4 separate regions of the Homo sapiens genome follow, and all the other regions are linked to region 4. The links are contacts of gene promoters, found by promoter capture Hi-C in human tissues and cell types (Jung and others, 2019). All regions are on one chromosome and are shown on one strand. The core of a region is centred on a gene start or on the middle of the fragment in contact, and the rest is flanking DNA. Distances in the headings are between cores, read along the strand shown. Region 1 overlaps LOC105375630 (a long non-coding RNA gene). Region 2 overlaps MMP16 (matrix metallopeptidase 16). Region 3 overlaps MMP16 (matrix metallopeptidase 16). Region 4 holds the start of CNGB3 (cyclic nucleotide gated channel subunit beta 3).

The links. Contacts are between HindIII fragments. The study calls those that stand out against the background at their distance.
Region 1: a fragment that was not itself captured here is called in contact with the fragment with the promoter of CNGB3 in region 4 in 1 of the 25 tissues and cell types used here (dorsolateral prefrontal cortex).
Region 2: a fragment that was not itself captured here is called in contact with the fragment with the promoter of CNGB3 in region 4 in 1 of the 25 tissues and cell types used here (spleen).
Region 3: a fragment that was not itself captured here is called in contact with the fragment with the promoter of CNGB3 in region 4 in 1 of the 25 tissues and cell types used here (dorsolateral prefrontal cortex).

The regions. Positions count from the first base shown.
Region 1 is chr8:88,340,382-88,347,520 of GRCh38, reverse strand. All of the region lies in intron 2 of LOC105375630 (a long non-coding RNA gene), which reads right to left. Among named protein-coding and RNA genes, the nearest start is that of MMP16, 16 kb to the right of the region's middle. The HindIII fragment of the contact is 5,276 bases long and covers 1,611-6,886 here.
Region 2 is chr8:88,318,449-88,325,364 of GRCh38, reverse strand. All of the region lies in intron 1 of MMP16 (matrix metallopeptidase 16), which reads left to right. Among named protein-coding and RNA genes, the nearest start is that of MMP16, 5.6 kb to the left of the region's middle. The HindIII fragment of the contact is 4,597 bases long and covers 1-4,501 here.
Region 3 is chr8:88,255,416-88,262,659 of GRCh38, reverse strand. All of the region lies in intron 1 of MMP16 (matrix metallopeptidase 16), which reads left to right. Among named protein-coding and RNA genes, the nearest start is that of MMP16, 68 kb to the left of the region's middle. The HindIII fragment of the contact is 5,154 bases long and covers 2,040-7,193 here.
Region 4 is chr8:86,741,828-86,749,325 of GRCh38, reverse strand. CNGB3 (cyclic nucleotide gated channel subunit beta 3) reads left to right here and starts at 5,692. Exons shown (of 18, transcript NM_019098.5): 1 at 5,692-5,827. The coding sequence starts at 5,699. The HindIII fragment of the contact is 5,975 bases long and covers 4,099-7,498 here.

The sequences.
Region 1 (7,139 bases), core at 2,999-5,498, 1.6 Mb before region 4:
ACTACATGGAAATTGAACAACCTGCTACTGAATGACTCCTGGGTAAATAACAAAATTAAGGCAGAAATCAGGAAGTTCTTTGAAAGTAATGAGAAAAAGGAGACAACATATCAGAATCCCTGGGACACAGCTAAAGTAGTATTAAGAGAGAAATTTTTATCACTAAATGACCACATAAAAATGCCGGAAATATCTCAAGTTAAAATTCTAACATCAGAACGAAAAGGACTAGAGAACCAAGAGCAAACAAACTCCAAAGCTAGCAGAAGACAAGAAATAACCAAGATCAGAGCAAAACTGAAGGAGATAGAGATATAAAAAAATTCAAAAGATCACTGAGTCCAGGAGCTGATTTTTTTGAAAAAAAATTAGTAAAATAGCTAGCTAGACTTATAAGGAAGAAAAGAGAGAAAAATCAAATAAACACAATCAGAAATGCTAAGGGGAATATCACCACTGACCCCACAGAAATACAAACAACCATCAGAGAATACCATAAACACCATACAGTGCATATAAACTAGAAAATCTAGAAGAAATTGATAAATAACTGGACACATACACCTTCCAAGACTGAACCAGGAAGAAATGAAATCCCTGAACCAACCAATAACAAGCTCCAAAATTGAGGCAGTAAGAAATAGCCTACCAACCAAAACAGCTGTGAGAGACAGACTCACAGCTGAATTCTACCAGATGTATGAAGAAGAGCTAATATAATTCCTACTAAAATGACTCCGAACAATTGAGGAGAAGGGACTCTTTTCTAACTCATTCTATGAGGCCAGAATCATCCTGATACCAAAAACTGGCAGAGATACAACAAAAAGAAGAAAACTTCAGGCCAATATCCCTAACAAAGAGCGATGCAAAAATCTTCAATAAAATACTGGCAAAATGAATCCAGCAGCACATAAAAAAGCTTATGCTCCATGATAAAGCTGGTTTAATCCCTAGGATGCAAGTTTGGTTCAACATATGCAAATCAATAAATGTGATTCAAATGGTATTTCTAGTTCTAGATCCCTGAGGAATCGCCACACTGACTTCCACAATGGTTGAACTAGTTTACAGTCCCACCAACAGTGTAAAAGTGTTCCTATTTCTCCACATCCTCTCCAGCACCTGTTGTTTCCTGACTTTTTAATGATTGCCATTCTAACTGGTGTGAGATGATATCTCATAGTGGTTTTGATTTGCATTTCTCTGATGGCCAGTGATGATGAGCATTTCTTCATGTGTTTTTTGGCTGCATAAATGTCTTCTTTTGAGAAGTGTCTGTTCATGTCCTTCGCCCACTTTTTGATGGGGTTGTTTGTACTGGGTATATACCCAAAGGACTATAAATCATGCTGCTATAAAGACACATGCACACGTATGTTTATTGTGGCACTATTCACAATAGCAAAGACTTGGAACCAACCCAAATGTCCAACAATGATAGACTGGATTAAGAAAATGTGGCACATATACACCATGGAATACTATGCAGCCATAAAAAATGATGAGTTCATGTCCTTTGTAGGGACATGGATGAAATTGGAAACCATCATTCTCAGTAAACTATCGCAAGAACAAAAAACCAAACACCGCATATTCTCACTCATAGGTGGGAATTGAACAATGAGATCACATGGACACAGGAAGGGGAATATCACACTCTGGGGACTGTGGTGGGGTCGGGGGAGGGGGGAGGGATAGCATTGGGAGATATACCTAATGCTAGATGACACGTTAGTGGGTGCAGCACACCAGCATGGCACATGTATACATATGTAACTAACCTGCACAATGTGCACATGTACCCTAAAACTTAGAGTATAATAAAAAAAAAAAAAATTTAAAAAAAAAATTAAAAAAAAAAAAGAAAAAAATAAAAAATAAAAAATAAATGTGATTCATCACCTAAACAGAACCAAAGACAAAAATCACATGATTATCTCAATAGGTGCAGAAAAAGCCTTCGATAAAATTCAACATCCTCTCATGTTAAAAACTCTCAGTAAACTAGGTATTGAAGGAACATACCTTGAAATAACAAGAGCTATTTGATAAACCCACAGCCAATATCATACTGAATGGGCAAAAGCTGGAAGTATTCCCCTTGAGAATCGGCACAAGACAAGGATGCCCTCTCACAACACTATTATTCAACATAGTATTGGAAGTTTTGGCCAGGGACATCAAGAAGAGAAAGAAATAAAAAGCATCCAAATAGGAAGAGAGGAAGTCAAATTATCTTTGTTTGCAGATTACATGATCCTATATCTAGAAAACCCCATTGTCTCAGCCCAAAAGCTTCCTAAGCTGATATGAAACATCTGCAAAGTCTCAGGATACAATGTGCAAAAAATTGCTAGCATTCCTATACACCAAGAACAGACAAGCTGAGAGCCAAATTATGAATGAACTCCCATTCACAACTGCCACAAAAAGAATAAAATATCTAGTAATATAGCTAACAAGGGAAGGGAAGTGAAGGACCTCTTCAAGGAGAACTATAAACCACTGCTCTAAGAAATCAGAGAGGACAAAAACAAATGGGAAAAAAAATTCCATGTTCATGAATAGAAAGGATCAATATCACGAAAATAACCATGCGACCCAAAGTAATTTTCAGTTTCAATGCTATTCCCATTAAACTATCATTGATATGCTTCACAAAATTAGAAAAAAAAATTTTAAATTAATATTAAACAAAAAAAAGCCAGAATAGCCAAGACAATCCTAAGAACAAAGCTGAGACATCACACTCCCTGACTTCAAACTATATGACAAAGGTACAATAATCAAAACAGCATGGTATTGGTACAAAAACAAACACATAGACCAATGGAACAGAATAGAGAACTTGGGGCTGGGTGCAGTGGCTCATGCCTATAATCCCGGCACTTTGGGAGGCCGAGGTGGGAGTATCAGTTGAGTTCAGGAGTTTGAGACCAGCCTGGCCAACACGGTGAAACCCCATCTCTACTAAAAATACAAAAAATAGCCAGACCTGGTGGTGCATGCCTATAGTCCCAGCTACTTGGGAGGCTGAGGTAGCAGAGTCACTCGAACCCTGGAGGCAGAGATTGCAGTGAGCTGAGATCACAACACTGCACTCCAGCCTGGGCAACAGAGTGACTCTGTCCCCACTCCCAAAAGAAGAAAGAATAGAGAATTCAGAAATAAGACCGCATACCTACATCCACCTGATCTTTGACAAACCTGACAAAAACAAACAATGGGGAAAGGATTTCCTGTTTAATAAATGGTGCTGGGAGAACTGGTTAGCTATATGCAGAACACTGGAACTGGACCCCTTCCTTACACCTTACACAAAAATTAACTCAAGATGGACTAAAGACTTAAATGTAAAACCCAAAACTATAAAAACCCTAGAAGAAAATCTAGGCAATACTATTCAGGACATGGGCACAGGCAAAGATTTCATGATAAAAATGCCAAAAGCAGTCACAACAAAAGCAAAAATTGATAAATGGGACCTAATTACACCAAAGAGCTTCTACACAGCAAAAGAAACTATCATTAAAGTGAATAGACAACCTACAGAATGGGAGAAAAGTTTTTCAATTAATCCTTCTGACAAAGATGTAATATCCAGATTCTATAAGGAACTTAAACAAATTTACAAGAAAAAAACAAACAACACCATTAAAAAGTAGGCAAAGGGCATGAACAGATAATTCTCAAAAGACAACATACATGCGGCCAACAAACATATGAAAAAAAGCTCAATATCACTGATCATTAGAGAAATGCAAATCAAAACTACAATGTGATACCATCTCATGCCAGTCAGAATGATTATTATTAAAAAAATTAAAAAAAAACAGATGCTGGCAAGGTTACAGAGAAAAAGGGATGCTTTTACACTGTTGGTGGGAGTATAAATTAATTCAACCATTGTGGAAGACAGTGTGGCAATTCTTCAAAGATCTAAAGGCAGAAATACCATCTGATCCATAAATCCCATTCCTGGGTATAAACCCAAAGTAATTTAAGTCTTTCTATTATAAAGATACATGCATGCGTATGTTCACTGCAGCACTATTTACAATAGCAAAGACATGGAATCAACCCCAATGCTCATTAGTCATAGACTGGATAAAGAAAATGTGGTACATATACACTGTGGAATACTATGCAGCTATAATAAATTGAGATCATGTCGTTTGCAGGGACATGGATGGAGTGGGAAGCCATTACCCTCAGCAAACTAATGCTGAAACAGAAAACCAAACACCGCATGTTCTTACATATAAGTGGGAGCTGAACAATAAGAACATATGGACACATGTGGAGGGGAACAACACACACTGGGGCCTGTCAAGGGGGGTGGTGGGGGGAGTGAGAGCATAAGGAAGAACAGCTAATGGATCCTGGACTTAATACCTAGGTGATGGGATGATCTGTGCAGCAAACCACCATGGAACACATTTACTTATGTAACAAACCTGCACATCCTGCACATGTACCCCTGAACTTAAAATAAAAGTTGAAGTAAAAAAATAGAAAAATATTTTTAATATTAAATTTAGTGTAGCCTCAGTGTACAGTGTTTACAGTAGTGTAGAGCAATGTCCAGGCCTTCACGTTCATTCACTACTAACTGACACATCCAGAGCAACTTTGTCCTGCAAGCTCCATTCAGGGTAAGTGTCCTATACAGGTCTACCATTTTTTTTTGTCTTTTATATTGCATTTTTACAGTACCTTTTCTATGTTTAGATATGATTAGAAACATAAATACTTACCATTATGTTATAATTGCCTATGGTATTCAGTACAGTAACATGCTGTACAGGTTTGTATCCTAGGAACAATAGGCTATACCATACAGCCCAGATGTACAGTAGGCTATACCATCTAGGTTTGTGTAAGTGCACTCTATGATATTCAAACAATAATGAAAATGAAATGCATTTATCAGAATGCATCCGTCATTAAGTGACACATGACTATATTTTGATTTAGAAAATGACATAAAAGAATTCCATGATGGTTGAAGAGTTGGCATAAGTAATCTCTTTACACATTTTCATGTAGTCCACATTCCCAAATCTTTTGATCTATAGTGTCCAAATGTAACATACAAATTATTTAATGGAAAAAAGTAATTAAGCGAGAGTCAAGAGAGGGGCTGGGCTAACTTTGAGCAATTCTCTTAAACTCTTTTGGATTAACTTCCTGGGTTATAAAATAAGGTGACTGGAAATATACTTCTCTTTGTAAGCTGTATTTTGGATTAAGGAGGGTGTGAGCAAGTTTGATTGTCTGCAGAACTGGGCCATTAAGAGCTAGTTCATAGGGGACTGGTATTAGTACAGTACTTGTTAGGAACTAAACAGTTGATTAATGTCTGTTTCCATGATCCTTACATAGAAAATTACAAGAGAGACAATTTTTCAATTGGGCCATTAATTGTCACCATGCCATGCTGTGTATGTCTCAATAACAAGTCACTTAGAGAGTGGTGTGCTGTTTTCCAGTGTCTTTCGAGCCAAAGTTCCAAGATGTCTTGGGTAAGAAAATTAGCCATCATGATTTCTAGACTTATTGATCATACCTCCTAATAATTAACAATACAGGAAGGAAGTACAGTTGGTTGGTAGAAAGCAAATAAAATGTAAAAGTATTGAAATAAATGATAGAAGAAAGTTTATTGAAATAATAACAGCCCCTGAAGTTTAGCAGATTAAGCCAGTACAATACATACTACGGAAATGAACAAAAAACCCTCCAAATTAAACAGAATTAAATAATTTAAACTAAATAATTACTGATTATTTAAACAAAATTAAATAATCACATGACCAGCGCCAGAAATCTCCAAGGACTTTCATTATTTGACAGAAATGGTGACCTATGAATTTTATACTAACTCAACTTGTTACCTGAGAGTTCAAAAGCAGGGAATAGGTTTTAAAATGCAAGAGAACCAAGGAATATGAGACCCATACTCCATAATAAAATCCAGAACATAAAACAAACAAAAATTGTATGTCTTACAGGCACTGGATTTGTTTTCATAAATATCAGTCTTTCATTCTGTCATTCTTTAAACAAAGATTTAGCTTTCTTTTCTGAATCAGGCATTATGCTGGGTGTTGGTGATAAAATAGCAAACAGTTCAGAGGAAGTACCTGTTGTCATGAAGCTTATATTTTCTCCACTGCAAAGGTAGTGGTGGAAATAAAGCGATAATTTACCATAATGGTAAACAACTAAAAAGAAAATAAAACATGGCAACTGGAATCATAGTGACTGACAATAAATATAGGGTTGGGAGGTCTTTTATATAAATAGTTAGAAAAGCATTTTGTAAGTAGGTGACCAGTGTGCCAAGGATACTTACTAATTACAGCATTAGTACATGTTCAAGTGGTCAAGAATTCATCAATATTTTATACATTCTGCTTTCAATTCCTGCTGAACTCTTCTGGGAATAAACTACTCAGAATTCTACAGTTCCATGGGTTTTTATTTCTCAGCACTTAGAGTTAACCTTCCTTTCATTTTTATTTGTCACATGACTCTTTCCTAAGTATTTTCATATACTGCGTTTTTGTCTTTTCAATTAGAATGAGAACACAATAAGGATATTTTCTCACCTTTTCACCTGTTGGATTTTGACATACTTAATATGGTTTTGTTCCCCATGAATAATCTACCATGCAAGTCACATATCTCCACTGCATTATGGTTTAACTCTTCTCTACCATAGTGACTCTTCCTCCTGAGCAAATAAACTGTTGGTAGACATAAAAATATTAGGTAAAATAAACATGTAACTTTGGTGTAAGTTTGGTGTCACTTTGGTGTAATGGGGTGAGTCCTGATTTTACTCCTTTACTAGCTGTGGTGACTTTAGGCAAATTACTTATCTTCCCTCATATCACTGAAATTTGCATATTTTCAGCAAGACTGATTTTCATTATTGTGATTACCTGAACCAAAAATGGTTTTGCCAGGACTTTCTTAATTTCTATTCTTTGCATGCCACAGAGTTGAGTTGGCCAAATGATAATGTGGCTTTCAGTGGAGTGGCACCCTTATACTATTGTCAGTTCTTGAGAATGAAAGACAAACCCACTCCATTATATTTCTACAATGGCAGAATTTATTTAAGTCAC
Region 2 (6,916 bases), core at 954-3,453, 1.6 Mb before region 4:
GCTTTAGGAAAGTATTAGATTTGCTTTCAGAGGTTAGGATAACATGAGTTTTGATGATTATTAGATTTTTTGTGAGACTAAACATAAAAGATTGTATTTCTTTATATTGGAATCCCTCAGTAAGTTCAGATATTATTATGCAAAAAAGTTATGATTGTACTAACAAATTTTATTTAATTTTGGATTCCAATGACCCCTTCTCTTTCTTCATTAAGATGTGTGGGGAAAAATGGTTTATGGAGAAAATAGTTATTTTCCCATTTTTAGAGGATTTAAATTATTCTAGTCATATTTATTACACAGATTTAAGCCTGACAGATAAGTCATGTGCCATCTCAGACCTTTAAAATCTTGCTTAATAAAATGGGAAGTTTTTCATGGTTTAGAGCAGATTATATGCCTTAGTTTATGTTATCCTCAAATAGTATTTTTAAGCTCTTGAGCTCATTTTGGTTGGATTTATAAGCTTCTTTATGTGTAATGATACCCCCCCTTTTTTTTAGATTGTAGGAGTAGCTGCTAGTGAAATGGAAATATTGTCAAGAACACAGAATGACGGGATGTTTTCTGACATAAATTTCTGCCTGATTCACTTCTATTTGACTTTTTTTTGATAGGAAACACTAATGGGAAGAATGGTCCATCACTTCCTCTCCAGAAGAGGCACTTACATTGTGTTCCTCATTCTGGTTGCAAAACATACACACTGGGAATGTTTTATTTGATTGATTCTCAAGGATAGTCTTAAAATAAACAGTAATGATATCAGTCATGCATGAAGCTCATATGATCATAAAATTTTTTTTCAGTAAGCACAGAAAGTTTTTATAGTTGGAACAAAGCTTCAGGGGGATGCTTTTTATGCTGACAACTAAGATTACATTGCTTTATTCATCACTAAACTTAACAATTTGTGGTCCCCCCATTCTTTTTTATCTCTGTGATTTAAGGTTTAAGACTGTATATTTTTCCCAGGGAAGTGGGGGATTTGAAGAGGGTGGTTGGCTAGAGGTATTCATGTTAACTCTTTCCTGTCTGATTTTTAAGGGTATAAATATTTGGAGTTGTCAATTATCGAAGTGAGAGATATTTTTAATATGGTGATGAAATCCTGTTACAGAAAGAGAGTGCATTTGGTTTTGCTTGGTTAGCTTGTTTTTTAAGAAGCAAAAAGGAACATCTCTTACAGCTAAGAAAGGGTCAGACACTACCAGGAGTAGTACTATGGAAGAGATTCAATACACTGCTCTACTTTCATTTCAAGTGGAACACTTTTATTGTTAAGTTTTCAGTATATACTCACTTAGGTAAAGATATCCATATATCATTGGATCCCTTTTTTAAGAGTTGGTCTTTCAGTATGTGATAATTAGCACGATGCAAGGGAACATTGCTAATATTAACTAAAAGTCAAAAACTGTTGTCATTGGACAGCAGTCTGAATCAGAGGTGTTCATTGGTCAGAAGCAGCTAAATTATTAACAAATAATTATTAATGTCTACTGTCTTAAAAATCATTTTGTTCCTAAAATAGCTATCTCATATAGGGATTTTCATGATCCTGTGGCTTTTTTTTTTGGTATGCTGTGAGCATTTTTGTTATGAAATTTGAGACAGAACATAGTTCATGATAGTAATACCTCTCATATCGTCAACTCTGAATAGTTTGTCAGATATTACTTATGTGAACAGCATATTCCTTATCAATTTCTAAACAATAGCATACATTTCCAGGGAGGAAAAAATTTTCAAGCTGATTTAGTGGTAAAATAAAAACATATAAAATTCTAAATGATGCATATATCAAAGCATAAAATGATTACTCTTTTGTGACAAAAAAAGTCTTGATAAGGCAAAAATTGATTTTGTTGTTCCTGATTAAAGAAAGCAGAGATATTTTAGATTTCAAAGGGGTCTTTTATGACAAATATGAATTGAGTATAACTATTTCCTAAATTTTTCTTGCAATATATTTACTTAACTGATTTAAGATTTATTCAAACCTTTGTCAGGTTTGCCTGCATGTACCTAAAAAGTCAGAGTTTGCATTGGGTACTTTTGTATTGCATATAAATTTGGTAATAATTAATCATGAGACATTTCAGAGATAAAAATTATATTTTATAGAATTTTACATTCTTATGTTGGGACACTGTTGCTTTTCTCTTGTTCTTTGCTTGCTTAAAAAATCAAGATGCATTATTTCATTTGGACATGGAAGAATGGTGGTACCATGCCTTCTTGAGTAAAGGTTGTCTCCTGAATATAGCCTATAATTCTCCACTGTAGCAGTTTCTAACTGGTCAACAACAGGGGCTGTATGACTGATTCATCAAGATTTTTATGTACCGCAAGATTGCAGGTTTAACAAAACGTCTCAAATATGCTGGCTGTTTAGGGTGCTCATAAGGGCCCAAAGCTATGATAAGGAGAACAAGAGTCTCAATTGTTTTAAGGTTCTCTAGCTTCTCCTACATGTTCTACCTTGACTATGCCTCTCTGTTCAGAGTTGCCTGGGCCGGATCACTCAGGTCTATGGTTATTCATGAAACCATTACATGACGTGATCATAGCTCACTACAGCCTCAACCTCCTGGGCTCAAGCAATCCTCCCACCTTAGCCTCCTGAGTAGCTGGCACTACAGGCACATACCACCATACCCAGCTTTTTCTTTTTTCTTTTTTTTTTTTTAATTTTCATTGAGACAAGATCTCACTATGTTGTCCAGGCTGGTCTCAAACTCCTGAGCTCAAGTGATTCTCCCTCCTTGACCTCCCAAAGTGCTGGGATTACAGACATGAGCCACCACATCTAGCCACATGTCATTATTATTAATAGAAAATAAAGGTCGATAAGGAAGTAATTGGCACCATAGCATCTAATGACATAAACATCTATCAGGTTAGGACATATCAATTGGTATAGGAAGATTTTATTTAAACACCTTTCCATTTATTAAAAATATAATGTACTGAAAATCAACCAAGCTAACATCAGTACATTTTCTTCCCGTAGGTTTTTCTTAGACAGTTTAGTTCAAGAATGTGATTTTCACATTTTGTCATGTCATCTGTTACTATCATAGAATATCAAGTTCAGCTCACACCTTCTTTTACAACATCACGTTCGCTGAAATCTGTTCATCTTTTCTAATGCCATAGAAAATAAATAGGCCTTTATAATTCAGTAGGCCTTTTTATTTTAATTGGATCAAACCCCAAGTGCTTCCTTTTCATAATATGGGTAGGATTCAATAAGAAACTTAAGCCAGCTCTGTTATACCTCAGATTCTGAACAACAACAAAAAAGTTTTTCAAAAATTATGTATAGGGAGGGATAAGAATTGACTGAAAAAGAAATTAAAGTGTTTTCTACAATAGTAAAAAATAGTGAAAAACATATCGTGTCCATATAACATTGGGAATGGCAAGATAGCTAGCAATGTGGTGTAATTGAGCACTGGGGGAGAAGTTGAAGGAAGTGGGCTTTAACTCAGGTTCTTTTGCTAACCTGGCTTTGAACTTGGACATGTAACTTATTTGATATCTCATCTGCAACAATGAGATGTGAACTAAACTGTCACTAAGGCCATTTCCAAATTTGAAATTTTATAGTCGTAAGCCTAGAAGCTTTAGTTTATGTAGCCAAAGGGGATGGGAAATGCAATATTGACCCTGTAAATTTGGTAACTACTGAATCACAAAGGTAGATAGTTCAGATTTTTTTTCTGAAATAAATGTCATGAGGAAATACAGAATGTGTAACTTAAATCTAACATGTGTTATCATCTGTAGTTCCAAAGGATGTTCCATTTTGGAAATCATCGTAGCCTTCTGCTGAGTAGTAAATACATTGGCAGCAAATGATACGTAATTTTAAAATCTAGTTTTGGCCAAGGTAGCAAACCTTAAAAATTAATTTAAAAAATATAATTTAGTGCCATTTTGAGAAACAAATATCATCTACAAGTGGTAATTCAATCATAAAAAGGCAAGTTGGAATAAGTTCAAAATCTTAAGTTTTAACAGTTTTTGGGAGGGAGTGTCTCAAAATTTAAATCTGTCTCTCTGTATATGTATACAAATATACACATATTTTGTAGTGAAATTAAGTGCTTATACTGTATTCTCCATTTGCCCATTGTGGGAAATAATTTGGGCATGTGTTCTTTGAGGATTTTTTTGTTCTTCACCACATATTTGATTTTGAATATGAAAAATCAGATTGCATTTATTTTATAAAATATGTAGTTTATGTGAACAATAAAAAATTCCATACTAAAAGGACAGAATGCTAAGTAATGATATATGGGACATTCACATTTTCTTTTGCCTTATTTTTCTTTTACTTGGGGAAGTTATTTATAGATTTTGAGGTTCTTCATGAAACCATATTTGATTGTTGTTTCCTGTCATTTAGCACTCTGAATTGATATTTTTTGCTTGGTGTTTCACCACAACTGTTTGGCATTGTGCATCCTTAGTTTTGGATAGTGGCATAGCTTGATGAGCCACATGACAGAAGCTGAGCCGAGAGAGTAAGTGTAGCCCCTAACCTTTGATTAAATGTGACCTCTTGGTGTAGTATATAAAAAGAGGCTAGAGGGAGCTATTGAGCTGCTTAAAGACTCCAATGGCTTGGAAGAACTTGGTTTAAAATCAAGGACAGATACTAGGTGCAATCAGATGTTGCAAAATGAATCATAGCCAATTGTAGATTTTGAAGAAATCAATGAACACAGTTCACGATTTAAGATGTAACCTGGTTTACTGAGGGCCTCTTGGCACCAGTGATTACATATTTGATGAACTAAGAAGGAAATTAGCACTTTAGGGAAAAATGTTCTGGGCATGGCAGTATAACAAAGAATATTATAATGCAGGAATGCTTTACATTTCTCTTATTTTTAGGTGTGTAATAGGTCAAAAACTATACATTGTAGTGACTAGGTGTTTTTGGTGTTCCTGTTTTAACTAAAATAACTAATGAAATAATTGTGGTTTTATAGATTAGAGGTGGAATAAATTTAATTTGATAATGCCTTTTAGATTATGTGTAGCAAAAATCCAATTTTAAAAGCTCACGAGACTAAAGTGATTTTAATTTCTAATGTTTACCATGAGTCCTTATTGAATAAATACTTTTCAATGAAAGCAGAGTTTAAAATCCAGTTTCTACCTATTCTTCCTTTTAAAAATATGTAAAAAACGATCCACAAAAGTGTGAAACAGTGTGGTTTCTTTAAATAGGAGCCTAAGAAATGTTTTTAGTTGAGCAGATTATTATTTGACCTCTGGTAGAGGTTGGGGGATAACAAAGGCACTTGCTAATGCATTAGGGCATGCCAGCATTTAATTAAAATATTATAAGCTTCTCATAAGCATCACTAAGTTTTTTGTAAGTTTTTTAATCTAGTCACTTAAGTGAGATATGGATTATTGAAGTAAGTCATGGACCCTGAGAACAGATAAATGTTCTCAAGAGAGATAGTCCTTAGAGTGATGTATTCAAATGACCAAAGAAACCCAAATAAACTATTCACTGAAACGGAATCTTATAGTATTTGTTTTAGCCCCGTTTAAGTTAAGGAGGAATAAACTGCCATTTTTTAGGGTAAGCTGGATACTTTTATAAACTTCATTTCATGTCCCTAAATTGCTTGCACCTGATGTGATGTCAATGGAATGTAGACATGTGCCTCTGCATGCGGCTGATGGAGTCAGACCCCGAATGATGTCAGTGGGGGCATTTTTCCGTGGGAACTTTTCACAGTTGAATTCCTACCATGTGTTGGTAATTTCTCATTGTTTATAATAATTAGAAATTTGTTTTTATTTTAGGTTCTAATGTCTGTGCATTCATTCCTTCTTTACTCTCAACAGTTGCAGTTCCTTTTCTCACGCTCTACTTGCTTCATCTAGTTGGCATCTTAGGGACTTCATATTTTAGTTACTTTGCAGGACCCCAGGCTTAGAAGTTGGGAAAAATTATGAAAAGTCACATTTTTACCCCTCCCCTCTGTCATCGTTAATAAAGTAAAATAGTTTCAAATAGCTTAGAGAAACAAATGTATACTTGATGGTTTATATAAAATTGAGAACAAACATAGAAAAGTCAAGAGCACTACTAAGATATGACTAAAATCCTTTTTGGAGGTTTGGGTATTCCTTGTATTACAGTAGTGCTACTCATATAACTCATTGTTTTGCCTATGTATGATGGACTGAGTGAAGTTGTTTGCTCCATGGGTGACTCAAGCAAATTGCTTAAGTAGTCTTTGCCTTGTTTGGGCCATTTATGTAATGGATATGTGATCTTTATTGCCTGTCTGTAGCGTGGATTTTATAATGACAGCATCCAGACACTGCCAAGCAGTCTCCTTTATAAGTAGGAATAACATGGTGTCTCAGTCCCTGAATTCCCGCTGATGACTGGGAGCATAGAAACACCTACATTCTGCCATTACATTCTGATTAAACAAAGGTCCAAATAACCAGCAACATGGAAATACCATTTGAACACTGAATCTTAATTATAATAAAAAACAATGTTAATTAACATTGGTTAAACACATGCTATGTGCCTAATAAGTGTTCTAAATGTTTCATATATAAACGCATTTAATTCTTATCATAATCTTGTGAGTTGGTATGACTATTTCTGTTACACAGTGTTGGATCTGCAACACAGGGTTTGAAGAACTTGCCAAGGTTATATTGCTATGAAGTGCTGAAGTGGGATAGCCTAAAATCAAAGCAGACAGGCTGACTGTCGTACCCAGGCTTCCAAACGAATAAATACAGGTGAGAATTAACTTCCAGGTTCCCAGTATGGATAATTTGATCCAGTTCCATTACGAACATCGTTTGTATTCCAAACTAAAATGATGTAACTAATATGTATAGTGGAAAAATA
Region 3 (7,244 bases), core at 3,367-5,866, 1.5 Mb before region 4:
GTAAAGAAAGTTTATGATGCTTGCAAAGCCCAAAGAAACAGAAATCTAGAAAAGAGACAGCCAACAGCCTATATAACTACCACTATATTGACAAAAGCCAGCAAAGCTGAACATGCAGATTCTCAGTAGTAAGCAATACTGCTAGCGAGGAGCCTCAAGTGTGTACTTGCTGCCTAATGGGTGCATAAACAGTAAAACAAAAGTGAGTAGTTTAACCTCCGTTTCTGATGAAGTTCCGGAAAAATACTTTAGAGTTTTATAAAATGTATTCTTGGTAGACAAGTCCATCAACATGCCAAGCTCTTGGAAAATCTTGAGAATCAAATCAAATACAAACACAGCCTGCAAAAAGGAAATATTTAAAAAATTCATATCTTTTCTTGCTTTAGTAAAATGTGCACTATGCCACGTTTGATAAAATTTCCTGTGCCCACACTTTTCCTGTAATAATAATACATCTCACTGCTGCACATAGTCTGGAGTATGTTTTATAATTTTGTTTGTTTTTGTTTTTGGTGAGAATGGAGCTGTGGCTTGGATTATTGACTAAGGTTCAAATATCACTTTATTACCAGACATTGAAACACCCATGTTTTGGCCCTGTGCTAGGCACTGGAATGTAGAACTAGAGAGATCATAGTCCTTTGCCTTAATGAGCTCATAGTCTTTAGACCTTACTTAACATTCTACCTAAGTAACCTTGGCCAGAGTACTTTCTGAGTCTTTAGTTATTTATAACCTCATGGGGTTGCTCTGAAGATTAAATATTAATAATATAATATGTGAATCATGCTAAGTGCAGTGCCCAGTGCATAGGATACACTCAGTAAATGTTATCCTCTTCCATCAGTAAATGGTTATATGGTTGTGTGTGTGTGTGTGTGTGTACATGTACATATATGTATGCATATGTATATGTGTATAGATATGTATGTGCATATGTGTACATATGTATATGTATATAACATACCTAATGGGAAGTGCTTTGAGTTGCTTCTCTGGTCTTAAGTATGATGATGATACGCAGTCTCCATTTCCTGGTATCTTTTTTTGCCCAGTGGTTTATAGAGTCTGAAGGGGAGGAGTTTTAATTGAGTGACTGGGTGGAAAATATATGCTAAATAGTGAGGTAGAAAGAGAAACATCGATTATACTATTAAGTATGGTAGTAAAAATATGAACGCTAGGGTGGGATTTTAGGGGATTGCAGTTTAGAATTATAATGCTATTATAAATTGTTGGATTATTTTTTTCCCCCTCATAAAACTGATGCACTGATTATACAGTAACATATTTTTCTGGGCTTGATAATACAACTATCCATGTGATATTTTTGAATCCAAGATAGGCATGTTTGTCTCCTAAATGTTTTATAATCTCAATAAATGAAATAACCAGAATCAGTACAGATCTAACCCACTGTGCGTAACTACCTACTCTTGGATCCTTGTAAAATGATTGTTTATAGTGGTGTTCTTGAGACCAGAGGGAATGATTAAATTAGAATCAGTATGTCTGCATGATAAAGCTAGGAAATTTATAATATATTTGAGGCATATCTTCAAGACAAAGTGTTAAATAACTTCAGTATTTCAAAATGCAATGTATTCCCTTGCTTTTGGCAGGCTGCCTGAAATGAGCTGCCATGGTGTTTGAGTACAAGATACTTGTTAAAGTGCATTTGTTATCTGAGGTCACTAATGTAAAAATTTGCAAATTAATATATTAGAAGCCATGTATAACTTAAAACAGTAATGCTTATCCAATGGAAACAATTTACTTCTCTAAAGTATTTATAGATTGAAGTCTGGTGGTCAATGGTTAAAGGATTTGTTAACTGGGAAACATAACACAATTCATTAATCAAACATGAGGATATTTTAGTCATTTAGCTATGTTTATACTTCATATATTTTTTCTAATTTTTAATCTATATTGTAATTGTTCAGGTTCATCTGAATGTTATCAGTTGAAATGTTGAGTTTTTTTCCCTAATAATTTTGGTTAGTTGGCTTTTTTCTTGGTAGAAGTAGAAGAGATCATTTCTTTGAATTTTATTTGTAAACTGATAAAGTCATTTAGGATTTTAGACTATGGAGAGATAATATCCTGTTTTTATTGGTAACATGAATGCTCAGTTAGGGCTCTACAAAGTGGAAATAAAATATCAGTAGATACTTATTTTGGCAGCCTATTCAGAGAGTTTCAATAATTGACTCCAGAAATCCGAAAAAAAATAAACTTTTAAGTGAAAAAAGTAGCATAATTTGAAGTCTTAAGTAGCAAGGAAAATAAGTGTTTTTTGCCTTATGTTTTAATTTCTTTCTTTGATTTTGTAAAAAACAAAACAAAAATAAAAACAAAAAAAACATGTATTCCTTAAATATGAGTGTTTTGTGAAGGAACTGTTTCATAGGAATGACAATACAGTTAAAAATATACTCAAATTTTTTTGTGCGAAGCAGTTGAACCATATTATAGAAATATTTTTAAAATGCTGGAAGAAGAAGTATAGTTTTTATCACTTCATGTCTTCTTACTGGTATATTTCTTTCCAATAATATCACCATGGGCTTGTTTTTTCTAATTCCTCATATTGTGCATTTTTTGAATATGTAGCTTTTCACCTCATTTGGTCAACTAAGTTAAACCAGTGCTTTCTACCTTTACCTAGTACAAATAAGTAAAATTTGGGGGGTTTAGGAAGCAACAATTAAGCTACCTATTGGATTCTGACTTATTCACACCAGTTTACCAGACTGAACGCTTAGGGAATCCATCTTCAAGTCAGATTCTTTCCATTCTCATTGACATTGATGCGTGAGGCAGGGTGCTCAGTAGTAGCTGGAGCTGAGTGATGGGACCAACATGTATCATAAGCATTTGTACCTTTTCCTAAAATAATCTTCAAAATAACCAGTATTTTTTATGTCCGCATAGTATTTAATGGAATCAGTGTTCCGTTGTTAACATAGTTATAGTCCTAATGGTTGGGAATCCCTTCCCCTTCCCTTTCCTCTTCCCTTTCTCTTTCTCTTTCCTTTCTTTTTTTTATTTTTATTTTTATTTTTTTGCTTGGCTATTAAACATAAGGATAAGGTGGATCCTTCTGTACATATCACATTTCCCACACGTTTAAATTATTTGTCTAGGATTGATTCTCCAAAGTACTGTTGCTATTTTAGGTTGTGATAGATGTCACCCAATTGCTTCATAGTAGGGTTGTGTAGTTACATAAATGCCTTAAATAACACACACAGTGCACCCTCACCAGTGTATGAACATTGTCATTTTGTTCTAATACTCTAGTGAGCTTTGCTTTAATCATCATAATATACTCTCTTTGAGACATTTCCGTTGAAAATGCATCCAATTTCCTGACTTTAGCCTATCTTTTTCTAAAGTTGTGACTTTGGCATGATAGAAAGTATCTAGATAGTTACATGTATACTATATATAGGTAGCATCCATATATAGGTAGCTATTGCTCTCCAAAAATCTTACCTCTGGAGTTACACAGACGTGGGTTCAAATGACAGTTCAGTTACAGGACAAGGCCCTTAATCCACTTGTGCCAGCATCTTCATTTTCTTCATCTGTAATGTGGAGGTGATGTATGGTGAAAGGAGGAAAGGAAAGGAAGGCAGGCAGGAGGCATGCTTCCTTGTGAAGCTACCACATTAGGTTCTTGGGATTTTTATGGTGATTTCAAAATTATTATGTTGTTGTAAATGGAAGATGAAACCTCTGAATCATGGCTATGCAACTTAAGATATGTTAAATAGAACTCAACCAAATATTTTGACTTAATTTCAGTGATAGTTCTCTTTTTCTTTCTGCAGTATTCCAACTTTATACTGTGTCTTCTCTGTAAAAGAAATGACAACATTTCTAAGTTATTGAGATAGGCGAACAATAGCAACATGATTCATTTTGCCTAGGTCAGAAATGAAAATGTAGTTTTCTGAGTCGTAAGCTCTCCGTCTTCCCTCTTATTGTAAACCATTATTTAACATTTAACATTTACAGTGCATCAGGCAGTGTGGCTATCACATAAAACATTTTTGCTTAAAAGGCCTACTTTGTTCATATGAGGTTTTATTTGGTCTTGCTTTTTTTAGTGATTTTGTTTTAGACAAAAGGCAACTAACATAGTAGGGGATATTTAGGGGAGAATGAGGGCTTAGGCAGGGAGTGATTTCTTAGGTCAGGGAGAGACCTGATATGGCATTAGACAGGCATTAGTATGCCTTACAGCCGACTCACTGGAAACTCACTCTGGTAACTTATTCATAGTTTTGGAAATTGAAAGCCTATTTTAGCCACTGATCTTAAGTATAGGCTCCTGAGTGCAGAACTAGGTGCATTTTAATCATCTTTCTTCTTGAAGGCTGGCAAGAAAAGGAAATTTTATTAACACAGCAGAGGTGTTAGCACAGGCACCCTGGACAAAGCAATCAGGAGGGAAAAGAAGATGTGAAGCAAGTCCTGTTCAAAAGAAGAGTCATTTGACGTGAACCCGGGAGGCAGAGCTTGCAGTGAGCAGAGATCGTGCCACTGCACTCCAGCCTGGGTGACAGAGCGAGACTCTGTCTCAAAGAAAAAAAAAAAAAAAGAAAAAGAGTCATTGCATTTTGACTTTTCTAGCTTCAGCCAGTGAAGCTAGATGCCCTTCCTGTGTTATGACTATTCCTTACCATTAGCCTACCCTTCTGTTCCTAGAAAGCATTTTTTATTTCAGAGTTGAAAAGTAACTTAACTGACCAACTGACCTTACTATTGCCTTCCCTTTAACTGTAAAGTAAATGTTGCAAATACTTACAGTATTGTTTCTTTTTGTATCACCTTTAATAGGATAGTGAGGTCTAGTATAACCCATAAGGTAAGTGCTCTGTTCATGTTTATAAAATGAAATACTAGGATATTTGTTCATTTAGTCAGATTAACAAATATTTGTTCAATGCATAGTGTTTATACTCCATGCTTATAATGCATTGGTGAACAAAAGGAGCTTTTATTCTACCAGAATTCATGGCAATAAATTATAAATAATATTAAACTGAGCTTTCTTTTCAATGATATTAAGCCCCATAAATGGTAGGTCCCTTAGAGGGCATTAATCTATCTAGAAAAGTTGAATATTTGCTAGGAGAATGGCATATGCCAGCAAAAGGCAAAAGTAATTGTAAACTAGATTTGACTTTTCATTTGTTTGTAGCTTTGTTTCCACAGAAGCTACATTTTTTGCACATACTTCAAACATCAGCATAGGTATGACCTCTAGTAAATGATCCCAACTGCTGGAAGGTTACTCCTTTCTCTACTCTACTCTACCTTGTACAGGTTCTAAAGTGCATTGTCCATATGTATTTACTATTATGTATACACAGGTAACATGCTAAGACATTCTGAGCCCTGTAAGAGCAAGGACTGTCTCAACATGTTTGTTGAATGGATGTAGGTCCTTAAGGTTAAATATAAACCCGACTTGCTATGAGTAGACTCAGTATAGATCAAGTGAAATAACAATATGTTCAGCCTTATGAAGTGTTCAAAGAACAACTGTTAAAAGGATGCAAAGTGACAACTAGTTATAAAATTTAAGAGAATGAAATTACTGAATTTAAAACACTAGAGGCTGAGAAAAGACATTATTGTATGGAGAGCAGGGGTCATGCTTACTGAGGATAAAACAAATGAAATTTGACAGAATTATAATGAATCTACAGTTATGCATTTTGAAAACTTGAACATTATATTCAGAATTGCTTAAATAGGCTCTGAAATAAAAGAAATAAAATAACATTTGGCTATGATGACCTCACAAAAGCTTCTAGCAAGGAAAACCTGATCATAAAATGTGGACATTTGTATTGCTGCTAGGAGGGTTATAAACCAGGGACCCTCTGAGTTATAAGTGTGTACTGTAGTTCCCCTGATGGATGGTGTGTGTGGGGTGTGTGTGTGTGTGTGTGAGAGAGAGAGAGAGAGAGAGATGGGGTGATTATGGAAGGATATAGTGAGAAGGGAGAAGGGAAGATAGCAAGATGGTGACAAAATAAATATGCATCCTTCAGTAGTTTGTCTTTCTTCTCAGAAAAAGTCGGTTTGATTCAAAAATAAGTTTATTGAATTCTGAATGTCTTGGGCTTTTCTTCTGAGATGGGAAAGAGATCAGTATTTTACACTAGACAACACTTTATTTAAAAGAGAAAACCAAGCAGTAGGTGACATAACCACATATTTGGATCATTTAAGATTGGAGGTTGTTGTGTGAAGTCGATTTGACCATTCAGTTTTTGATTTCAGAAAGAGAGAACATTAGCCCATTTGCCTGTTTAACTGAAAAGATTGATTCTTATTAGACACATGCTAATCGTAAATTAATAAAATTATTTTTACAAATACAAACCTAATCTATTACTCCTGTCTTTGATAAAGAAAACAATGGAATTAAAAAAAATAAGTATTTAGAACATTACAGGTTATAAACTTGGCTTAGAATGTATTTAACTATTGAAGATAGAATTAGTGAAAGAAGAATAAATGGGTTAAAAATACTGCCTAGAAAAAAAGCTGAAAATAGGAGATGAGCTGTTTTAATAAGATCAGGGACACCAGGTGCAGACATATTACAAAAATAAGCTGGGACAACCTTGAGATTCAACCAAGAGAAGAGATAAGAATGACCTCTGGATAAATGAAAAGATAACAGTAGGAGAAAATGAATCCAGCATCTATAGAAAAGTTCCCTAAAGCCATGACTGCAGAAATTGGGATCTAAATGATTGAATTCCACCACTTTCAAAAAAGGCCTGCCCAAGCCATGTGCCTTAGTGGGGGAAAAATCAGACCCTTGCTCAGCAGTTCGTCAGTGTGGAAGTCTGATATGTTTCATGCACCTATATAAAATCCCTAACAATCAGCCCTTAACTTCCTGCCCATCCTTCGGCAGAGTAAAACATACTGTTTTTAACTAAGATGGAAATTTAAAGTCCTTATTTACAATGAATGTGCAATAAAGAGGCAACGGTTTTACTGGAGGAAAGCTTTGCTTTTAGATTTGAAAATCCTATTATGATCCAAATTCATCCTTTGTGATCTAGACAGATCACTGGATCTATAAGAAGCTCTGTTTTCTCAACTGTAAATTAAGGTAATACCAATTTGTGTGTGTGTCTTCGAGTTTGTATGTGTGTTAGTCTGTTACACTGCTATAAAGAAATACCACCTGAGGCTGGATA
Region 4 (7,498 bases), core at 4,443-6,942:
GCTAATTGCATATAGACAATCTTCTTTGCAAATGGCACAATTAATCTCCTTACATAACAGTAGACCATGATGTTCAATTAGCTGAAGTGCTTTCAGTTAGTTCACTAAATGATAAAAAATAAATAAATAAGCAATGATAGTCCATAATTGGAACCAAGTACTGAAACTGGCTAATCAACTTTGTTAAAAAAAAATGTAAAAGAATGAGGAAACTTCATAGTTACCCCATCCATATTCACGGAACAAATTCATCACGACCTGATTACTGTTTATAAAATTCTAACATAAGGATTTTTTTCAAAACATTTATTCTATTAGTCACAGACTAAACCAATATAGCATTCATTAGTCACAGATGCCACTAGTTATTAACAATTTCCTGAAGACATTTTTACCGTTAATATCTGTTACATTCATTGCTCATGAATTTTAAGTTAAAAGCAATGCAAATATTATAATCAGAGAAACAGCATTTCTACCTATTGAAATACTATATTTAAAATCACTTTGGTTTCAGAAATTTTTAAGTTGCATTATCTAGTCATATTATACCTGCAGATGACTGAAAAAAATCTAAATACTCTAAATTTGTCATCACATAAAATCACACTGGCAAATATTTCTAAATAATTCTATACATATTTTATGAGGGAAAACTTCCTCTAAGTATCAGTTGCTATAATTCCACTTCATAAGATCATTAGTCAATATCATCAAGAAAAATAAATATACTCAGAAATGTTCTTTGAATATTTATTTTTTGAATGCAAAGTTAACGTTTTGCTAATCCTACAATAATTAAAAGAACATAAAATCAATGCCATCAGTTTCTTTTGAGACTGATATGGTCTACATAGTATATATAAAGAAAATTGTATATGTTTCATGTTTATTGTTAATACTCAACAGTAGTTTAACAAGTCTTTGTTATGTATCTACTATATTAAGGGCACTGTGCTGGCCACATAAACTGCTAACTATTGTAATACCTTAATTCACTGGATGTTGTTTCTGATGTCTGGACCTTTCAACATCTGCCTGGAATATCTCTCATCTTTCAAAACCTGTCATGAGCATTAGCTCCTCCGCAGAGCTTTACTCCCCATTTTACAGTCCATTCACACAAAGGCAGACTTGGTCACCTGCTCTTCTCTGCTTAGGTGGCATGGCTCGCACACTGCCATTATGGAAGCTGTCTTGAGATTGTCTATAAACCTTCCATCTTTCCGTCCCAAAAGGTGAGTGTGCACAGGCAGATGCCATATTTTGGTCATCTCTGTATACCCCACAGCAGCTAGCTGAGCACCTGACACACACTAAGAAGCCAAATCTTCACTGCTCAATAGAATTATATGCTTTAATATACAGAGTATTTTAAATTTGAGTGCTTCAGAAAACACAATTTGTTTTATTCAATTGATTGGCAAATATTTGTTGAGAATTTAACTTACAGCAGGGAATTTTTGTCTGTCATCTTATTCCTTGGCTTGTGTAATCTAGCCTGTTATTCCAGCTTCCATTTTGTAGATGAGCACCTAAACCTTGTTCGCAGGTAACCAGACATTGCTAGTAACTTTTTTCTCTAAAGTCTTATAATTTTTTTTAAAAAAGCTCATAATTTACTCACCTGTTTTCCTGCCTTATTAAGTATATTCAGCGTAGTTAATTTTTCAGAACTTGGTCAGTGTTCAGGTTTGTTACCAGGTTATTATCTTCTCCTAAAAATACACAGCCCTGAACCTGAGATGGGGGAAAACTTCTGGGAGTTTCCCTTCAATTACTGTTTTAGGTTATCTACTGTAAACCAGCTATTCCCTTTATACTCGGTGGTTGCTCTTCTCTTATTGAAATAATATTCAGACTACTTGAACTTAATTCAGAAAGATCTTGGAAAATTGCCTAAATGTTTCTTTCTAGTAGACATAGGGGAAAATATAACCTTAGTTGGTTTTATAACCTTAATTTGTTTCCAATAATTTGCCAAAAACAAACAAGTCTTCAACCCTTGACCCCGTCCAGAAGCAGAGGAGACTGTGATTTGAGAATTACCAGAAGAAAGTCCTCCTCGTTCAAAATTGCCCCCAGTGGGAATGTCTGAAATTCCATCATTAAAGATTCCCTCAAAGAAAGATAGCATTTCCCAAACCTGACTCCTATTAAGTGAAAACTTTATTACAGATCCTATTTGAATAATTCATAAGAATAATACTTAAATATGTTCCAACCTGAAACTAGATATAATCTTCATTTGCTTATAATTTTTATAGAACCATAAAGCTAAAACTTGTTTGAAAATTTAACATAAAACTTAAAAATCAATAAGATTAAAACAATGCTGTCTGTAAGATGGCTAATGCTCTGCTGAAAATAAAATTACTAGTCACAACAAGAATATGGAACTGTTTGCTAATGATGATAATCTTTTTGTTTTAGCATAGCTTTATTACCATCTGATTTGTATTTTACGTGTTATATTCCTATGTGCCATCTGTATACCATCTACGGTATCTAAGACACCATTTGTTTTAAAACATACCATTATTTTATGCATGCTTCTCTCAGCCTATCCCAACTTCAGCCTGCAATGGCTACTAATAAAAAACAATGAGGCTACAACATTTGCATTCTTCCAGGGAGATTTTTTCCACTTCTCTTACACACTGCATCTACCACAGAGAATCTCTTCACTGTTAATCTAGAACTAAGAGATGGTCTATACCATCTTCTTCCTGTTATTTATTCAACAAACATTCATGGAGTACCTAGAATATGTCAAGCACTGAGCTGGGCACAGGAATCTGAAGGTGGCCAAAGCATAGTCTCTGCCTGCAGGAGCTTATGCTCTAATAGAGAAAATAGACCTGGACATGGCTGTAAAATGAGAAGTGACAAAGTAGAGATCTCTGTATGGCACAGATACAATTGCAACAAAAAGACAGGATTATAGGTATAGCTGTCCATGGTAGAAGAGAGGAACGGTAGGAGAAGGAAACACCAAGCTTAAGCTAGATAGACAAGAAGTGGAACAGCGTTGCAGGCAGGGGAACAGTACACATGAGCAAAGACATGGGTACAGGCAAGAAAAAGCAGAGAAGTTCAAGCTATTTTAAATTACTGATTATGGCAAGAGCCAAAAGAGAGGTCGGGGTTACAGATTAAACTAGAGTTAGGCAAAGGTCAATGATATAAGGCCGGGAATGTCCTGGTAAGGAGTTTATACATTTATGCTGTAGAGAAGGAGGAGTGGCTGAGGGGCTTCAGTTAGACAAACAGTCCGTTATATTGAAGAAAAATTGTTTTTATTCCCATTGTCATACACTACCTCAGCAATATGGCAACTTGGTACAAAAAAATTAAATTGTTATTGGTGAAATTCTAGTAAGCCATTTCACCCAGAATAAGCAACCCTCCTTCTTCCCTTATCTTCTTGCTGATTAGAAGAGCTCCTCTGTGGAAGACCACAAATCACAGAATTTAAAACCAGAAGAAAACAAACATTGTTTTTTCCCAACCTAGTTATTTCCAGGTTAAGGCAAGAGATTTACTTTAGTCCACAGAGCTACTAAAGTGAAAAAGAATGATCCAAAATTCATGTCCTTCATTCCAGAATTCTTTCTAGTTGTCCATTTTCCAAACTTTGAGACCTCTGATCTAGACAAAATAAAAGTAGTCATTTATAATTTTAATGCCCATGTTAATGCCACTCTATTGTCAAAAATCAGGTTGTTGGAGGTATTTTAAATCATTTTAAAGGTGCTTGAATTATTTAATAATATCTCCATCCCATTTATTCTGACCTGTGACAAATCTAAAGGGTTAAATTGTCAAAACAGACTAGCCAGAATCACAGATCTTACATAGCACCAAACTTTATTAATGATTCGTTGGCTACAAGCCGCCATCAGGAATAAACAAAACATTCATTTTGGGAAAAACCCCAAACTGTCAGACACAGCATCCAAACAAAACAGACCATTTTTCTCCTGCAGTTGGCATATTTTGGTTTTGCATTTACAAGTAATTTTTGAGCATTGTCTGCAAAAACATTTCTCACAAAAAGAAGGCAGTTTGGTTTGGGGACATCTTCGTTCCACATTCTCTTACAGAGCTTACATAGCACCTCTCTCTCCATTCTCCAGCCAGCCTGCTAAATTCCAGGCTTATTTACAATAAGCAATCTAGACAGACCAGAAATGTCCTGCTAAAAAAGTTTCATAAATAGGGACTCCCTGGTATCTTTCCACTGATAAATACTATGAGATTTATACGAAAGTCTGGTGAGGTCATTTTTTCCTCTGCAGGTCTTAGGAAGGGAAAAAATTAGTCACAGGCTGGCTGTTAACACCTTCCCTTCCTTTGGCTTAGCTTCTATGCTTATACCCAAAGTTCAAAATGTAATCAATTACAGGATTACAGGATTATCTGAAAAGTTCCTAAAATGGCCCTATACATATTTGATAATCTATTCAGAATTATTTCTGAAGCAATAATGGAACCAAAACACCCCCCACCATTTTTTAACAAAAATAAATAGCTTTGTGTTTCCAGGCCATATAAGTCAAATCATGTATTCAATTACGTTATTTATTAGGTAAGTTTATTTTTGATAAAATGGTTGAATCTAAAATTAAAACTTCTAATTTATTTTAAAAATCCATAAGGGAACTGCGATTTTGGTAATATGAAATCTAAATTAAAATGCTTTCTTCATAAATACTTAAAGGCTTTTTTCTGTATTAACTGTAATAAACGTATCTTAAAATACATAACTAGTATCTCAAGGAAATTTCCAGATTGCAAAAATACAGAGGGCAAGAAGTATTTGATGGGTTGACTTAGGCTGCCCTGGGTGTGGGTGTGTACCTTGTTGCATAAAGGCTTTGGTTTTAATTTGAAACTGCAGAAGATAAGTGCTCTCATTAAAAACAAAAACAAAAACAGAACCCCTTTAAAAAAAATCATGCGTCTTTGGTGCACTAAAAAATCTCATCCAACAGCATAGAACATCAACTTTGTCTGGGCTCCGGGCAAAGGGGAAAAAAAAGTTCTCTTTAACAAATCTTAGTCTTGTATCTTTGCCTCACACAGGTTTGGGGTCAAAAGTGACACACACACACACAGAGGCAGAGTAGAATAAGCAGATTTTTTTTTGTTTAGCCATGTGGAAATCAACCACCAGAAGAACAGAAAAAGAAAGCTTAAAAATAGTGGCCTAACATTGCAGGACCAGAGAAGGGGATTTTGAGGAGTGAATGAGTTGCTTCATATCATAAGCCCTCATGGATTTTTTTTAATCATTTCCATATTACTTTGCATAAAGTTAGACAGATAAAGATAAGTAGGTGGGTAATTAGAAGGAAAAAAAAAGAAAGAAAACAATGTGTTGTGTGATCACATTTAAACCATTCAAATCAACTATGAAGCTGTGTTTAATCCTCTACTTCTAAATTATTCACAAGATCATTTTGACTCCCTAAAGTTCATAAACAGAGTGCAAATCACCCAAGCAGAAGTATTTTGCTGCTTTTAAGCCAAAGCCCTGACTAGCTAAGGAGTTGCCTGTAGGAATTAACCAGAACAAAATCCTGATTAAACAGCTAATTGGCTTGTCTACTAAAGAAAAGGAAAACAAAGTACATTTCTCTACCTTAAGGCACAGTCATAAATACAGAGGGTTTTCAGAACCACCTCAGAGAAGATGTTTAAATCGCTGACAAAAGTCAACAAGGTGAAGCCTATAGGAGAGAACAATGAGAATGAACAAAGTTCTCGTCGGAATGAAGAAGGCTCTCACCCAAGTAATCAGTCTCAGCAAACCACAGCACAGGTATGTCCTCTACATTCCTATGCAAGCCTTGATTTTCATCATTTCTTATCTGGTAATAGCATTTAATCACTGCTACGATATATGATTGTTTAGTAGTTTTACCTGGCACCATCTGGTACATGTACTGTGTCGGGCTTATCTTCATTAATTTATATATTCTGTATGTATTTGTTCATAAAAAGAATAATAAATGTTTAGGAGACTATACTAGGATTTGGAAAAGCCAAGTAAGACTTCTCATTGCTGATTTTCACTTCTACCATCATCCAAAATGAAACCATTTCTCAAATATTAAATTGGTTACTTGATTGAGTTTCAACAAAGAACATCAAGTATCCTGGTCTTCATAAACCACATGTTAACAATAAATCTCTAGAGCAATAGGAAACCTATTGGCTCTCAATTGAGAGCGATTTTACCACTCAAGGGACATTTGGCAAATCTGGGGACACTTTCAGTTGTCATAGCTCCGGGGTGGGGATGTTACTGGCATCCAGTGGGTAAAGTCTGCAGATGCTGCTCAACATCCTATCATGTACAGGACAGCCCTCCACAACGTAGAATTATACACTACAAAATTTTAATACTGCCAAGGTGGAGGAACTTTAAACAAGCCTTTTCACAAGTTCTAAATATATTTTTCTGCAAAATGTATATGATAATTTCTGCTTTGTTATGAGAACTAGAGACAGTAATATATAAAGCACATGGTAGGTACTTTACAAGTGGCTATTATTATTATTAATAAGAATTTGTGTTTCTGTGACAGGTTTAAGTCCTAAGTGATCATTACAAGAGCAATATTTACTTAGAACTATCCACAGAATAATTTTCGTGAATTACTCACTAGAATTATCTAAAAGAGCTACAGAAGATTTTTAGAGCAGTAGTTATTTTGCCATCTGAAACAGCTGGATGAGAGATGACAAGTACAAGCAGGAGTGCTCCTCAGGGACTAGGGGAGCATAGTCCAATGGTTCGGGTTTAAATGAGCCTAGAGGATAGACAACACTGAGACTATTTAACATGGGCCGTGGAAAATCTGCCTTCCTTTTCTGATTAATGTTGACTGCTTTGCAGTAGAGAGGAGATGAGGAGGACTGTGTTAGTATTGCTTCGAGAGAGTGCCCTTGACTTCTTTCTAATTCTTATGTCAAAATAAATAATCCCACACTAAGTTATCTATATGTTTAAGAACTCATACAATGTCACAAATATTGAGCTGGTACTTTCCTTCAGCTAGTCTTGCTGTGTTTTGCTCTGGGAAAGTCACTACATCCATCTTTAACCCTTGCCTACTGTGATTATTTTCCAAGGGAGCACATAAAAACCGTTAATAGCTAATATATTATTCTCTTGGAGAACATTGTAACTAACAGCAATTACTATTTGCCAAGCAAGGTGCTAAGCCCTTTTCTAGGGCTACTGTATTTAATCCTCACAACAGTCACAGGTCCTATTACAATTTGCTCCTTACACATAGCTAGCAAATGGCAGAGCCTGGATTGGAACCAAGTCCTATCTGAATTCAGCACCTGAGAGCTAAATCACTAGGCTATACTGCTCAAAACAGGAGGGATATTAGTTGAGTCAACCCTTTAAGATACTTTGCCTGCAGGATAAACGGAAATTAGAGAGAAGGCGAAAAAAGAAGAGAAACTTCTTAAAGAG